2 separate regions of the Homo sapiens genome follow, and region 2 is linked to region 1. The links are contacts of gene promoters, found by promoter capture Hi-C in blood cells and fetal thymus (Javierre and others, 2016). All regions are on one chromosome and are shown on one strand. The core of a region is centred on a gene start or on the middle of the fragment in contact, and the rest is flanking DNA. Distances in the headings are between cores, read along the strand shown.

Evidence for each region. The method cuts DNA at HindIII sites, captures the fragments that hold promoters and counts their contacts. A CHiCAGO score of 5 or more calls a contact.
Region 2: a fragment that was not itself captured here is called in contact with the fragment with the promoter of ZC3H8 in region 1 in 1 of 17 cell types (erythroblasts); the score reaches 5.1 in erythroblasts.

What each region holds. Positions count from the first base shown.
Region 1 is chr2:112,250,784-112,257,651 of GRCh38, forward strand. ZC3H8 (zinc finger CCCH-type containing 8) reads right to left here and starts at 4,259. Exons shown (of 9, transcript NM_032494.3): 1 at 4,125-4,259. The coding sequence starts at 4,198. RefSeq lists a silencer at 4,232-4,441 and a cis regulatory region at 5,992-6,243. The HindIII fragment of the contact is 1,301 bases long and covers 3,140-4,440 here.
Region 2 is chr2:112,513,486-112,520,353 of GRCh38, forward strand. TTL (tubulin tyrosine ligase) reads left to right here. Exons shown (of 7, transcript NM_153712.5): 6 at 6,797-6,868. Among named protein-coding and RNA genes, the nearest start is that of POLR1B, 26 kb to the right of the region's middle. The HindIII fragment of the contact is 1,945 bases long and covers 1,506-3,450 here.

The DNA of each region.
Region 1 (6,868 bases), core at 3,009-5,508:
CCAAAAAAGAGGAAAGAGGAATGTGAGAGAGAAGGGTATTTTAGGCAGAATGCAGAGTGCCTTTTGAGATTAGGAGCGAGACAAACACATTTAAGTGTAAAGATGAAAAAGAAAAACTGTTTTCAGACTTACAGGACTGAGAAGTTGACCATGCATATATATAACAGTCTGAGACAATTACTTGAGGCTATTCCAGCAAAACTAAATATGAACCCAAGAGGGATGGGAAATATAAGAACATGGTGAACAAAGAAGACAATAAAATGTATAGATGTATCTGAATAATGGTTGATACTAGAAATATAGGGAGCTGAAGAAAATATTATCTTAGTAAGTGGTGACTATTGAACACAAGATTGGGAAAAGCTGTGAATTAAAATATGAGTTACACACCAGATAAAGGCAAGGAATTGGGGAATGTGTCCCATCTCAAGAGAACATGTTACAAAGGGAAAGCACTGACAGCACAAGGAGAATGTGAACAGTGGCTCCGTGGCTGTTCTTTCAAAGTTACAGGAGCTCAGGCTTCACAGCTTTGTCCAATTCAACAGTTTACACTGACTCAGAGCTCCAGAGTTACATCCATCAGATGAGGTACTAAGTTGTGAGCCTGCTACAGAAGCCACCATTACAAGAACCAAAAACCCCAATACTTGTGAATCTTTATAGCTATAGTTTCCAGTAATGAATCATCTCATGGAGTAGGAGGCAACCTCTCCTTAGGCAGAGGAATAATGACAATAATGACCTCAATAGCAGTAACAGCATCAGCCAACACTTGAATGATGCTTACTCTGTGCCAGATGCTGCTCCATACACGTAACACTTACCACAAACAACAGTGTTATGACATACATACTAAAAGCCCATTTTACGGATGAGAAAACAATCACAGAAAGGATATGTAACTTGTCACAGAGCTAATACATGGTGGAGCTGAGATCTGAGCCCCAGCAGGCAGGCAAAGCTCCCAAGTATGTGCCCTACAATCACACTGTTATTCAACACTGCCCATTCTAAATAGATGTCTACTTTCACTGTGAAGGTCTACAATACTCAGCACCCATATTAGACCTATGAGCAGGATAGGACAGAGGTGACCACCTCTTCTCTGTAAAACATGTTCTTTACTTAGCTTCAGAGATAGTGGGCTCTTCTAGTTTCTTCTTTCCACAGCTACTACTTCTCAGTCTCCTTTGTTGGTTCCTTATCTTCACAACTTTCAAAGTCAGTTCTCACCTCTTCTCTTCTTTGTCTATATTCTCATCTATATTCTCATTCCAGGCTATCCCTTTCTATATCATCACTATGAATATCATCTGTATGTAGTTGATTTCAATATCCAAGTCTCTAACCCAAACCCCTCTTCTTAAATCCAAACAGAGCTAACTTCCTAGTCAACATAACCACCTGAACATCTACTAGACATATGTAATCTTAAAACATCCAACACTGAACTCTTGCTCTTCTCTCTGAAGCCTAATCCTTCTTGCTATCTAAAACGGCAACACCATCCCTCTCAAGATCCCTACCAAAACCTTAAAGTCAATCTTGATTCCTCTCTCACATCCCCATCCAATCTCTGAGGAAATCCAGTTTATTCTATCTTCAACATACCCACGTTTGACCACTTCTTGCCACTAATACAACAATCCAAGCTGCTCTGGCACCCCTACATTCTACTCTCAACACAACTAGAATGACCCTGCTAAAATATTTCAAATGTCACTCTGCTGAAAAACCCTCCAATGGTCTCTTGTCTCATTCAGAGTAAAAGCCAAAGTCCTTATTTCGGCACCTACCAGTTCCTCCATGATTGGGCTCCCCTAACCCTACCCCAGTACCTCGCAGACTTCCAAGTCCCTCTTACTCCACCCCAGCTGTCCTGGCCACTTTGCTCCCCTAACCCAATCACACCAAGCTCACTCCGTCTGAGGACCTTTATACAGACTCCTCTCCACCCCTCTGGACTATGAAACCCCCTCACCTCCTTCAGGTCCCTACACAGATTTTTAAAACTTACCAATGTTATCAGTGAGGCTTTCCTTATCTACCTTCTTAAAATATCTACACCTCCCAGCCGGGCGCGGTGGCTCACGCCTGTAATCCCAGCACTTTGGGAGGCCAAGGCGGGCAGATCACAAGGTCAGGAGATCGAGACCATCCTGTCTAACATGGTGAAACCCCGTCTCTACTAAAAATACGTCGGGCGTGGTGGCAGGCGCCTGTAGTCCCAGCTACTCGGGAGGCTGAGGCAGGAGAATGGTGTGAACCCGGAAGGCAGAGCTTGCAGTGAGCCGAGATCGCGCCACTGCACCCCAGCCTGGGCGACAGAGCCAGACTCTGCTCAAAAAAATAAAAAAAAAACCCACAAAACTACTCCCTCCCTACCATCCCACCAGTGCTTATTTTCCCCTTACCCTTCATTCATTTTCTCAGGGCATTTAGTACCACCTAAAATATGATATATTTATGTATGTCTCCCCCTTCCCCTAATAATGTAAATTCATTAGTACAGAAATTTTCATCTCTTCTTCATTTACTACTATATCCCCAAGGCCGTAGCAGGTGCTCAATACGATTTTTTGAATGAATGAGAAGTATTCCCATCACAAATTACTCGGAAAAAAAACCAGAAACCATATGAGAAAAGACTGATTCATCTGACTGCATAAAACCAAACCACAACATCCCCATTCCTTTTTACATTGAAAAATAATGCCATAGGCAAAGACAAATGACAATTGGGAGTAAAGTATTCGCAGATAAGAGATCCTAGAATGTGAAAAAGACCAAAAAGGAGAAAAATGGGCAAATAATATGGACAGCTCACCATACTTCCATACCATCCTTCACCCATCATTTTGGCAAAATTCCAAGTGTCTTTTATGTATTGCAGTCAAGTTTTGGGGAATGGAGCTTGTGTCCAACACACTTTGAAACTGATAGCTGCTGTTCGGATTTTTAAATGTTGCTATTATCTTTTTTTTGTGTGATGAATTCTTATGTATTTTATAACATATCAATTAGTACCAGTTATTTTTCTTAGTAAATTATATCATCTGCAAGTAATTAGTGTATCTGTCTCTTTCCAATATTTATAGGGCTTATTTTAAAATTTTAGTCATTTTGCATGAGAAGCTTGGTGATAAAATCATGGATCCTGGACATAGCTCTTCCACTTACACTGTGCAATCTCGGCAGGTTATTTAGCCTCTCCGTGCCTCAGTTTTCCCATCTGTAAAACGAGGACGGCATCATCTTCTCTTTAAGTTTGTTTTGAGGATTAAGTGATTTATTTCATGTAAAGCACAAGGTAAAGCTCTGGATGATCAGTTAAGGTAAAATTTGAGATAGAGTGAACAGCTGACCAATATCGAATGGTAAAATCAATCACAACTGGAAATATATCTCAGTTGAGGGAAATAAAAGACGTAGGTTTAAGAACAAAGATGGTGGTTTTTAGCATTTCAAATCACTAGACACTGCTCCAAAAATATAATCTACAAATTAGGGCCATCTGACCAAGAGTCTCACTTGCTTTTCCAACCTAATGGAAATATTAAGTCCAAATGACGTCTGTTGCTTTATTGTGGTCTTTAGGGTCTTTCCATGCAAATCAGTGGACTAATGGCAGAGTATTGCCTATTCTTTACCTTTCAATAAACTTGTGGTTTCATCCTTTCTACAGAAAAGAACCTAGGAGGTGTCAGTGAAAAAGGTCACATCAGTGTCCTCTGGGAGTTTACGGTCTCGTGGAAACAGGCAACAACGGTAAAGACAGACGCTACGGGACCACAGAGGCGGGCTCCTCACCCGCTGCTGTGCAGAGAAAGGGGCGCATCCCGGAGCCTTCTCGCCTCCACCCCGCTCCCCCGCCCAGGCTCTCGACAGCCCCGGCCCTGACGGCCTAAGCCTGAGCCCCGCGTTCAGCTTCTGCTCCCACCCGGACCCCGCACGACCTCTATAGGTCAGACGGTGGCGCCCGGCCGGCCCACGTGCTCCCCACGGGCCCTCGCGACGCGGCCCGGACGTGGCCCCGGACTGCCTCCAATCCAGAAGAAACTAAGAGGCGGAGTCCCGCTGAGCCCCTGCATTCAAAAGATGAAAAGATATGGGATCACCTTTCGTCAGAGTCCGTGGCCGTTTTGCCGAGGGCCGGGTTGGGGGGTTTTGAGAAAAGATTCTCAAAATCCATGACCCAGACAGGTCCTCCCTTTCGCGAGCCGGGAAGCTACAGAGTAACAACCCGAGAGAGTGACAACCCGGACGCGACGAGACGGACCCAGAGCCGCGCCAGGGCCACAGGCTCCGCCCCGCGCAGCCTCACCTGCCCCGCGCATGCGCTGCACCGCCCTCCGCGACTCTGGGCAGGCCGGGTCTCTCCCTGCCTCCTTCGCCTCGGCTCTGCGCAGGCGCCGCCGTGGTTGCCCTTCTGTAAGCTTTTTCGTCCTTTACCTCAGATAGTAGAATTTTGTTTATTTTATTTATTTATTTGTTTGTTTGTTTGTTTATTTAAAGACAGAGTCAAGCTCTGTCGTCCAGGCTGGACTGCAGTGGCGTGATCTCGGCTCACTGCAACCTCCGCCTCCCGGGTTCAAGCAAGTCTCCTGCTTCAGCCTCCTGAGTAGCTGGGACTACAGGTGTCTGCCACCACGCCCAGCTAATTTTTGTATTTTTAGTAGAGACGGGATTTCACCATGTTGGCCAGGATGGTCTCGATCTCTTGATCTCGTGATCCGCCCGCCCCAGCCTTCCAAAGTGCTGGGATTACAGGCGTGAGCCACCGCGCCCGGCCCCAGCCCAGAATTTTTAAAATTAGTTGTTAGGATTCTGCTTTCACCTTGGTGAAAACTCTTCCATCAAAATCACAGTATTTCTAAGGGATGGTAGTAACAGCTAACATTTATCTGAGCACTCCACTACTATTCCTTAGAAATAGCGTTTCACATGTTAGCTAACTTAATCCTCACAACAGCCCTGTAAAAGATGTTCTATTACCATTCACAGTTTTGAAATGAATAAACAGATGTGTAGTCAGGTAATGTAACTTGTAGGGTCTCTACAATTGAATGGGAATTAAAATGAATACACAAGTAACCTCAAGACAGAAAAGTCCGTTAAAAAGTACCAAATACTAAGAGAATTCAGAAGAGGGAAAAAATTGCATCCAGTTGGGAAGGCTTCTTGAGAAGGGAGTATTTGAGCTGGGTCTTGAGATATTTCCATAGGAAAAGAGGAAGTGGGCATTCCAAGTAGAGAGAATTGTATGAAGGCAGGAAAATAGAGCATGCTGTTGCAGAACAGGAAATTGCTCAGTTTTGCTCAATGTAATGCCATTTAAGGGACCTGTAGAAAGGAAGGCTCAAACCCTAGGTTGGGCCAGTGATAGAGAACCTGACTTGCTTCTGTAAGTGAAGGGAGTGTTTGATTCTTGGCATGAATCAGGATCCCTTTACCGATTAGTGAAGGGAACTATTTGAAGCCAGACATCTTCCCCAGGGAAATTCTACTTTCCCATGTTGTTTATATTGTAGGCCATCACCTATGGAACATGAATCATTACTAAAAATTCAGAGAAAAAATTGAATTAAGGAGATAAAAACTAGAATTACCCCCTCTTTAGCAGGAAGCATTATTATAGAACCCAAATTGTTACCATACACACTTTTTTATATAAAATATCCAACATACAGCAAAAGATAACCAGACACAAATGAAAATTAGATTGGTAGGTAAAAAGCAGCTAAAACATCTGACCTGCAAAGGCATCAGACACTAGCATTTTCAGACAAAGACTATATAAAAGGCTACATATGTTTGTGTTAGATTGATGCCAAAAAAGGCCCCAATTTCTCCAACCTTTCCTGTATCCATGTCCTTTGCAATGTGACTTTGCAGCTCCTCCCATAAAGAGGTAGGATCTATTTCACCTCCTCTTTAATCTGAGTTGATTTTGCCTGATAGAATGACTTGTCTTAGCTAGTAGAATGCAGAAGTGGCCTGCCAATACCAAGCCAAGGCCCCAAGAGGCTTTGTATGTGTCTGCTGTCTCTTATATGCCTGCCTTCTTCAGGACAATAAACTCAGGCTACCCTGCTGACGATAAGGGAGAGGCATGTAGAAGATAAGGCTAATGGAGGACAGCGAAAACACCCAGTCAACAGCTAGCAAAACCCTAAAAGCAAAGCCTCCTAGGCAACATACAGCTGAGCACACACATGATGGAGTCCTGCAGAGAACCAAAGACTCTCAGATGATCCCAGTCCAAATTACTAACCCACATAAATAAATGGTCCTTGTTTTAAGCCACTAAGTTTTTAAGTAGTTTACTACATAGTAATATCTAACTAATAAAAAAGAAACTATAAAAAGTGTCATAGAGAAATTGGGGAGAAGTAACCAAGTAGAACTTCTAGAAATAAAAAATATAATACTGAAATTTTTAAAAATCAGTGGATGGGGCTGGGCGTGGTGGCTCACACCTGTAATCCCAGCACTTTGGGAGGCCAAGGCCGGTGGATCACAAGGTCAAGAGATAGAGACCATCCTGCCAAAATGGTGAAACCCTGTCTCTAATAAAAATACAAAAATTAGCTGGGCGGGTTGGCGCACGCCTGTAGTCCCAGCTACTCAGGAGTCTGAGGCAGGAGAATCGCTTGAACCCGGGAGGCGGAGGTTGCAGTGAGCTGAAATTGCGCCACTGCACTCCAGCCTGGGAGACAGAGTGAGACTCCATCTCAAAAAAAAAAAAAAAAAATCAGTGGATGGTGTGGTCATATTAAAATGTGTTCAAAAATTCCTTAACACTTCTCCCTGCAAAAGTTGGAGATTTAGTCCCCTCTTCTTTAATGTGGATAGGATTTAC
Region 2 (6,868 bases), core at 1,228-3,727, 260 kb after region 1:
ATCCTCTTAGTTTTCTGTCATCTGAGAATGTGTTTATTTCACCATCTTCCTGAAGGGTATTTTCACTGGATTTATACAAATATACATATAAATATTTATACAAGTATAAATATTTATACAAGTATAAGTATAAATATTTATACAAGTATGAATATTTATACAAGTATAAATATAAATATACAAATAATATTAAGCAAAAAAATGCAAAAATACAAGCTATATAGAAGATGCATACAAATTTATTTCACTTACATAAGTTAAACAAGTAAAATTAAATAATGTTTTATTTAGCTGAATACACATGTATGGTAAAAATGTAAAGCAAAATGAAGAAGTGATAAACATACAATTCAAAATAGTGGTTATTCATATCCCTAGAAGGAAGGCAGAAGGGACACAGGGAAGAGGCTTAAAGATAGTGGATGGTGGGTACATGGGGAATAATTAATATTACATATATTTTAAACTCACAAGACAGCATTCCTATGATTATAGATAGTTAATATTCATTTAGAGTTCCCCACATTTTGACCATTTATGTTGTTTCTCTTCCTTTCCTGCATTTCCTTGCTTTTATCTAGGATTATTTTCCTTATTGTTAAGAAACTCATTTTTAGGCCAGGCGCGGCACCTCACACCTGTAATCCCAATACTTTGGGAGGCCGAGGTGGGCCGATCACTTGAGGTCAGGAGTTCAAGACCAGCCTGATACATGCTGAAACCCCATCTCTACCAAAATATGCAAAATTAGCTGGGCATGGTGGTGCACACCTGTGGTCGCAGCTACTCGGGAGGCTGAGGTGGGAGAATAGCTTGAACCTGGGGGGTGGAAGTTGCAGTGAGCCAAAATTGTGCTGCTGCACTCCAGCCTGGGTGACAGAGCAAGACTCTGTTTCAAAAAAAAAAAAACTAATTTTTAGTAGTTTTTAAGTAAAGTCTGCTGTGATAAATTAGTTATTATTTGTCTGAAAATATATTTTGTCTTTTTGTTTTTAAGGACATTTGCTCTGGACATAGATTTCTAGATAAGCAGTTAATTTCTTTTCCTACTCTGAAGGTTGCATACCATTGTATTCTGGCTTCCATCTTTTCTGCTGAGAAGTCAGGTGAAATCTTAGTATTGCTCTTAATGTATCTCTTCTCTATTTTTGAGATTCCTTTACATTGGTTTTTATAAATTTTACTATGAGATGTGTGTAGTTTTCTTTGTACATATTCCTGCATTTGGGTTCATAGTGCTTCTTGCACCGTGGCTTGATATCTTTTACCAGTTTTGGAATATTCATGGACATTATACTTTCAGTTGTGTCTTTTGATCCATTCTCCTCTTCTTCTAGGTCTCTAATTACATGATTGTTAATGCTTTTCACTGTTTCTCACACTTTTATGGCATTTTTGTATCATTTTATCTCCCCATGGTTGTACTCATTCTTTTCGTCTGACATCTTTGTTTGCTAATCCTTTCTTTATCTATTAAAACCTGTTAACAATTTTTACAAGGTAAAAGCTTTTAAAAGCTGCTGTTAAACTCACCTATTGAGTTCTTGATTTTAGTTAGCGTGCTTTTTAGTTCTGAAATTTATATTTGTTTCTTTTTTTCATATTATAGTTGTCTTATGAAATTCTCCCACTTGCCTCATATTTTCTTGAAGATAATGGCAATTCTTTAACATCCTTATCTGATAACTCCAAAATCTAGATTACCCATGGCAGAGTAATCCAGAGTATGCCCTGTGTATGGGCTGCATATGGCCTGTAGCTTGTTTTTGTAAGGTCTGTGGGCAAAGAATGTTTTTTATATATTAAAGATTGTAAAAATGAGAATATGCAACAGAGGTGGTACATATCCTGTAAAACCTAATATATTTACTGTCTGGCCCTTTATAGAAAAAGTTTGTCAGCTCCTGACTTTTAGGTCTGTTTCTATTGTCTCTTTTTTCTCTTGGTCTTATTTCTAAATATGCCTGGAAGTAGTATTTTAGCATTAGTGTTCACTTACTACAGTTTACTAAGTCTAGTAAAGATTTTTTAAATGAGGTGTAACATCCACAAAGTGTACAGTCTGGTGAGTTTTCAGTTATGCATGTACTCACCTAGCTGTGATATACATAAAAATATAAAACATTTACAGCATCCCAGAAGACTCCTTTGAACTCCCTCAAAACATGTATTCCCTGCCAGGCCAGGTGCGACGGCTCACGCCTGTAATCCCAGCACTTTGGGAGGCCGAGGCAGGCAGATCACGAGGTCAGGAGATTGAGATCATCCTGGCTAACACGGTGAAACCTCGTCTCTACTAAGAAATACAAAAATTAGCCAGGCGTGGTGGTGGGCACCTGTAGTCCCAGTTACTCAGGAGGCTGAGGAAGGAGATTCGCTTGAACCCCGGAGGTGGAGCTTGCAGTGACCCAAGATCACACCACTGCACTCCAGCCTGGGCGACACAGCGAGACTCCATCTCAGAATAAATAAATAAATAAATAAATAAATAAATAAATAAATAAATAAATAAATGCCCTGCCAAAGACAGCCACTTTTCTGACTTTTATCACCTTAGATTCATTTTGCTTGTTCTTAAACTTTATGTAAATGGAATTATACCATATTTCCTGTTTTATGTTCAGCTTTTCCCAGTGTTACATCTGTGGCATTCATCCATGTTATTGCACATAACAGTAGTTTATCCTTTTTATTACTGTGTAATATTCCATTGTATAAGTATTTCAGTTTATTCCTTCTGTAGTTGGTAGACATCTGGGTTTTATCTCTTATATTTTAGAACTATAATCTATCTGAAGTTGTTATATATCAAGTTTCATGTCTTTCCACAAGGATATCCCATTGACCCAGGGCCACTTGTCCTTTCCCCGCTGCATTGTGGTGTGTCTTTGTTACAAATCAGGTGGCTGGCTGGGCACAGTGGCTCACACCTGTAATCCTAGCACTTTGGGAGACCAAGGTGGGTGGATCACAAGGTCAGGAGTTCAAGACCAGCCTGGCCAATATGGTGAAACCCTGTCTCTACTAAAAATACAAAAATTAGCCAGGCATGGTGGCATATGCCTGTAATCCCAGCTACTTGGGAGGCTGAGGCAGGAGAATTGCTTGAACCCGGGAGGTGGAGGTTGCAGTGAGCCAAGATCGCATCACTGCACTCCAGCCTGAGCAACAGAGCAAGATTCCATCTCAGAAATCAATCAATCAATCAGGTGGCCATTTATGTGAGCGTCTGTTCTAGGATCTCCATTCTGTCCCATTGTTCTACCATCCACCATGTCAATGCTACCCTGTCACAATGACTGAGACTTTTTCCTTACTGTATTCTCACGTAGAGCCCAGTAGAATAATTACAGGGCTTGGAGTCCCATTTCTTCAGGGAATATAGGTGGTTGGAATTCTGACACCAGATAAATCAAATATGCTGGAAAAAGAATTCCTATTTTAGGCAAAAGCTTTATTGGAAGTTTGCGGCATCCTTTCCGCATTGTTCATTGCTGTTCAGAGTGTTGCTGCTGTGGTGCTATAAATGCTCCCAGCAGCTCTCAGGTTTTCTTTCCTTCCAGCTAGCCTCCCCCTAACTTCCCACTCCAGCCAAAAAAAGATGCACTGTATAAGTCTCTGATGAGGGATAAAAATCCTTTAAAGTGTATTATTAATCTTGAGCTTTCAGCAAAAAAAAAAAAAAAAAAAAAAATTAGTTTTGATTTGCTTCTGATTCTCAGGTTTTTCTTTATGTTGGAATGTAATACTTCTTTCAATTTTATTTTATCTTATTTTTTTGAGACAGAGTCTTGGTCTGTCACCCAGGCTGAAGTGCAGTGGCGCAATCTCATCTCATTTCAACCTCTGCCTCCCGGGTTTGAGCGATTCTCCTGCCTTAGCCTCCCGACTAGCTGGGATTACAGGCATGTGCCACCACTCAGTGCTAATTTTTTGTATGTTTAGTAGAGATGAGGTTTCACCATGTTGGCTAGGCTGGTTTTGAACTCCTGACCTCAAGTGATCTGCCTCCCTCAGCCTCCCAAAGTGCTGGGATTACGGGCATGAGCCACTGTGTCCAGCCCCCATTTTATATTTTAGTATTTTTTTCTCTCTCTCTTTTTTACCATAAGCATCTGTTAAACTTTTAAATCTTCCTTAATTATAATATTTTAAAGAATATTCTAATTAAAACAGGCTAAGTACGGTGGCTCATGCCTCTAATCCCAGCACTTTGGGAGGCTGAGGCAGGCAGATCACTTCAGCCCAGGAGTTCAAGACCAGCCTGGGCAACATGACAAACCTCTGTCTCCAAAAGTTACAAAAAAAATTAGCAGGGTGTGGTGGTGCATGCTTGTAGTCCCAGCTACTTCGGAAGCCTGAATTGGGAGGATCGCTTGAGCTCGGGGAGGTCAAGGCTGACTGCAGTGAGCCATGATTGGGCCCCTGCACTCCAGCCTGGGCGACAGAGTGAGACCCTGTCTCCTGCTTTTTTTTTGGAGATAGGGTCTCGCTCTGTTTCCCAGGCTGGAGTGCAGTGACATGATCTCGGCTCACTGCAGCCTTGGCTCATGCAACCTCTGCCTCCCACGTTCAAGCGATTCTCCTGCCTCAGCCTCCTGAGTTGCTGGGTTGCTGGGATTACAGGCATGCGCCACCACAGCCAACTAATTTTTTTTTTTTTTTTTTTTAAGTAGAGAGCCAGGGTTTCACCATGTTGGTCTGGCTGGTCTCAAACTCCTGACCTCAAGTGATCCATCTGCCTTGGCCTCCCAATATGCTGGGATTACAGGTGTGAGCCACCTCGCCCAGCCAAGAGTATTTTAATTAAAGCAAAAGTTAAGGATATTCTTGTGTAGAACAGGGATTTTTTTTTTTTAATGTGATGTGTGCTTGTCAATTCAGGTTGAATATGAATGGGAGAAGAAATTTTTATTATAATTAGTTTTTAAATGACTCATCTTAAAAGAACCATTTAAGCCAAAATAGTTTTTAAAGGTTTAAATGTATCAATTAAAATATTTTTCTTTTTAGGAAAAAAGAAAAGGAGATTGAAGTTTGTGGAGGGCCGAGGGCGGAGGATTGACCCTGGCTCCAAGTTCACAAAGGCCTCAGTTCTTTATTAAAGTCATGAGTCAAAACCTGCATCTAGAGCTACGTCTTAGAGTTAGTCACATGGACGACAGTTCCCTGTATCTTTTTCTTTTTCTTTTCTTTTTTTTTTTTTTGAGACAGAATTTTGCTCTTTCACCCAGGCTGGAGTGAAGTGGCACAGTCTTAGCTCACTGCAACCTCTGCCCCCTGTGTTCAAGCGATTCTCCTGCCTCAGCGTCTGGAGTAGCTGGGATTATAGGCACCTGCCACTATGCCTGGCTAATTTTTGTAATTTTAGTAGAGATGGGGTTTTGCCATGTTGGTCAGGCTGCTCTCGAACTCCTGACCTGAGGTTACCCACCCGCCTCGGCCTCCCAAAGTGGTAGGATTATAGGCGTGAGCCACCGCGCCCGGCTGGCCCCTGTATCTTTTTCCTTCCAAATACACAGCTGTGTAGAAGGACAGTTATCTCTGGTACACCAGAGTCATTGTAGCACATTTTATTTACTGAGAGAAATATTTTGCCCCAGCATTCAGTTGGGTGAAAAATCAGGGAAGATCTTTATAAAACAGAAATGGCATAGGTTTTCTGGGATAGTTGTAGATAAGAGGTATTTATTCTTCCTAAATAATAGATATATGGTTATCATAAGGAAATATGATGAAAAATTGTTCATAACAGTAACATTTATTAAAATGCTTCCTAGGTGCCAGGAGTTATGACAAGTTCCTTATGTAATTATCTCACTGAACAATCACTTGTTCAAGATTTTGGTCTGACCTGAGACCTCATGTACTTGTTCATTGTATTTCCAAAATACACTTTCAACTTTTTTATTGTGTCACTAAAATCCTGCCATTTTTCCATTCATTGTTGCTAATAATACTTCTACATTTCAACATTTAGTTTCAACATGTATAGCTCTTAAATCTTGTAATTAGCAATAATTTGCCATTGGAACTAGAACTAGCGACATCGTGAGGTCAACATGTTTTTTTTTTTTTTTTTTTTTGCAAATCCTGCCCTTCACCAAAGGGCAGTCCATTCTTTACATGGCAAAAATACATGGAAATGTTTTACGTGTTATAAACAAACATGGCAGCAGCCCAGCTGTTGGAAGAATCTTCATTTACAGAGGCCACAATGACTCGGCACTCTACTGCTTCTTGAGACATGGGAAAGTGGCTTTTGCCTGGAAGAACACGAGTGGTTGCAGTTTTCTAACAAATGCTTGATAAGTAACATTCTCTTGAGTAACCTAATGGTAATAAGTTGAAAAGAGAGAATTAGGCCGGGCACGATGGCTCGCACCTGTAATCCCAGCACTTTGGGAGGCCGAGGTGGGCGGATCACCTGAGGTCGGGAGTTCGAGACCAGCCTGACCAACATGGAGAAACCCTGTTTCTACTGAAAATACAAAATTAGCTGGGTGCGGTGGCGCATGCCTGTAATCCCAGCTGCTCGGGAGGCTGAAGCAGGAGAATCTCTTGAACCCAGGAGGCGGAGGTTGCCATGAGCCAAGATCATGCCATTGCACTCCAGCCTGGGCAACAAGAGCAAAACTCCGTCTCAAAAAAAAAAAAAAAAAAAAGGAAACAGAGAATTAAAGCTGATAAGCTGATATTTGTATTCATCTCATATAAAATCTTTCAAGCACACCTCATGTCTTCCTTCTCCTTTGACCACCCCGTTCTAATGAGCATTTCCCCTCCTGCCTCATAGGAACTGCCTCCTGAGCGTGGAGCCTGCCATTAGCACCAAGCACCTCCCTTACCAGAGCTTCCAGCTCTTCGG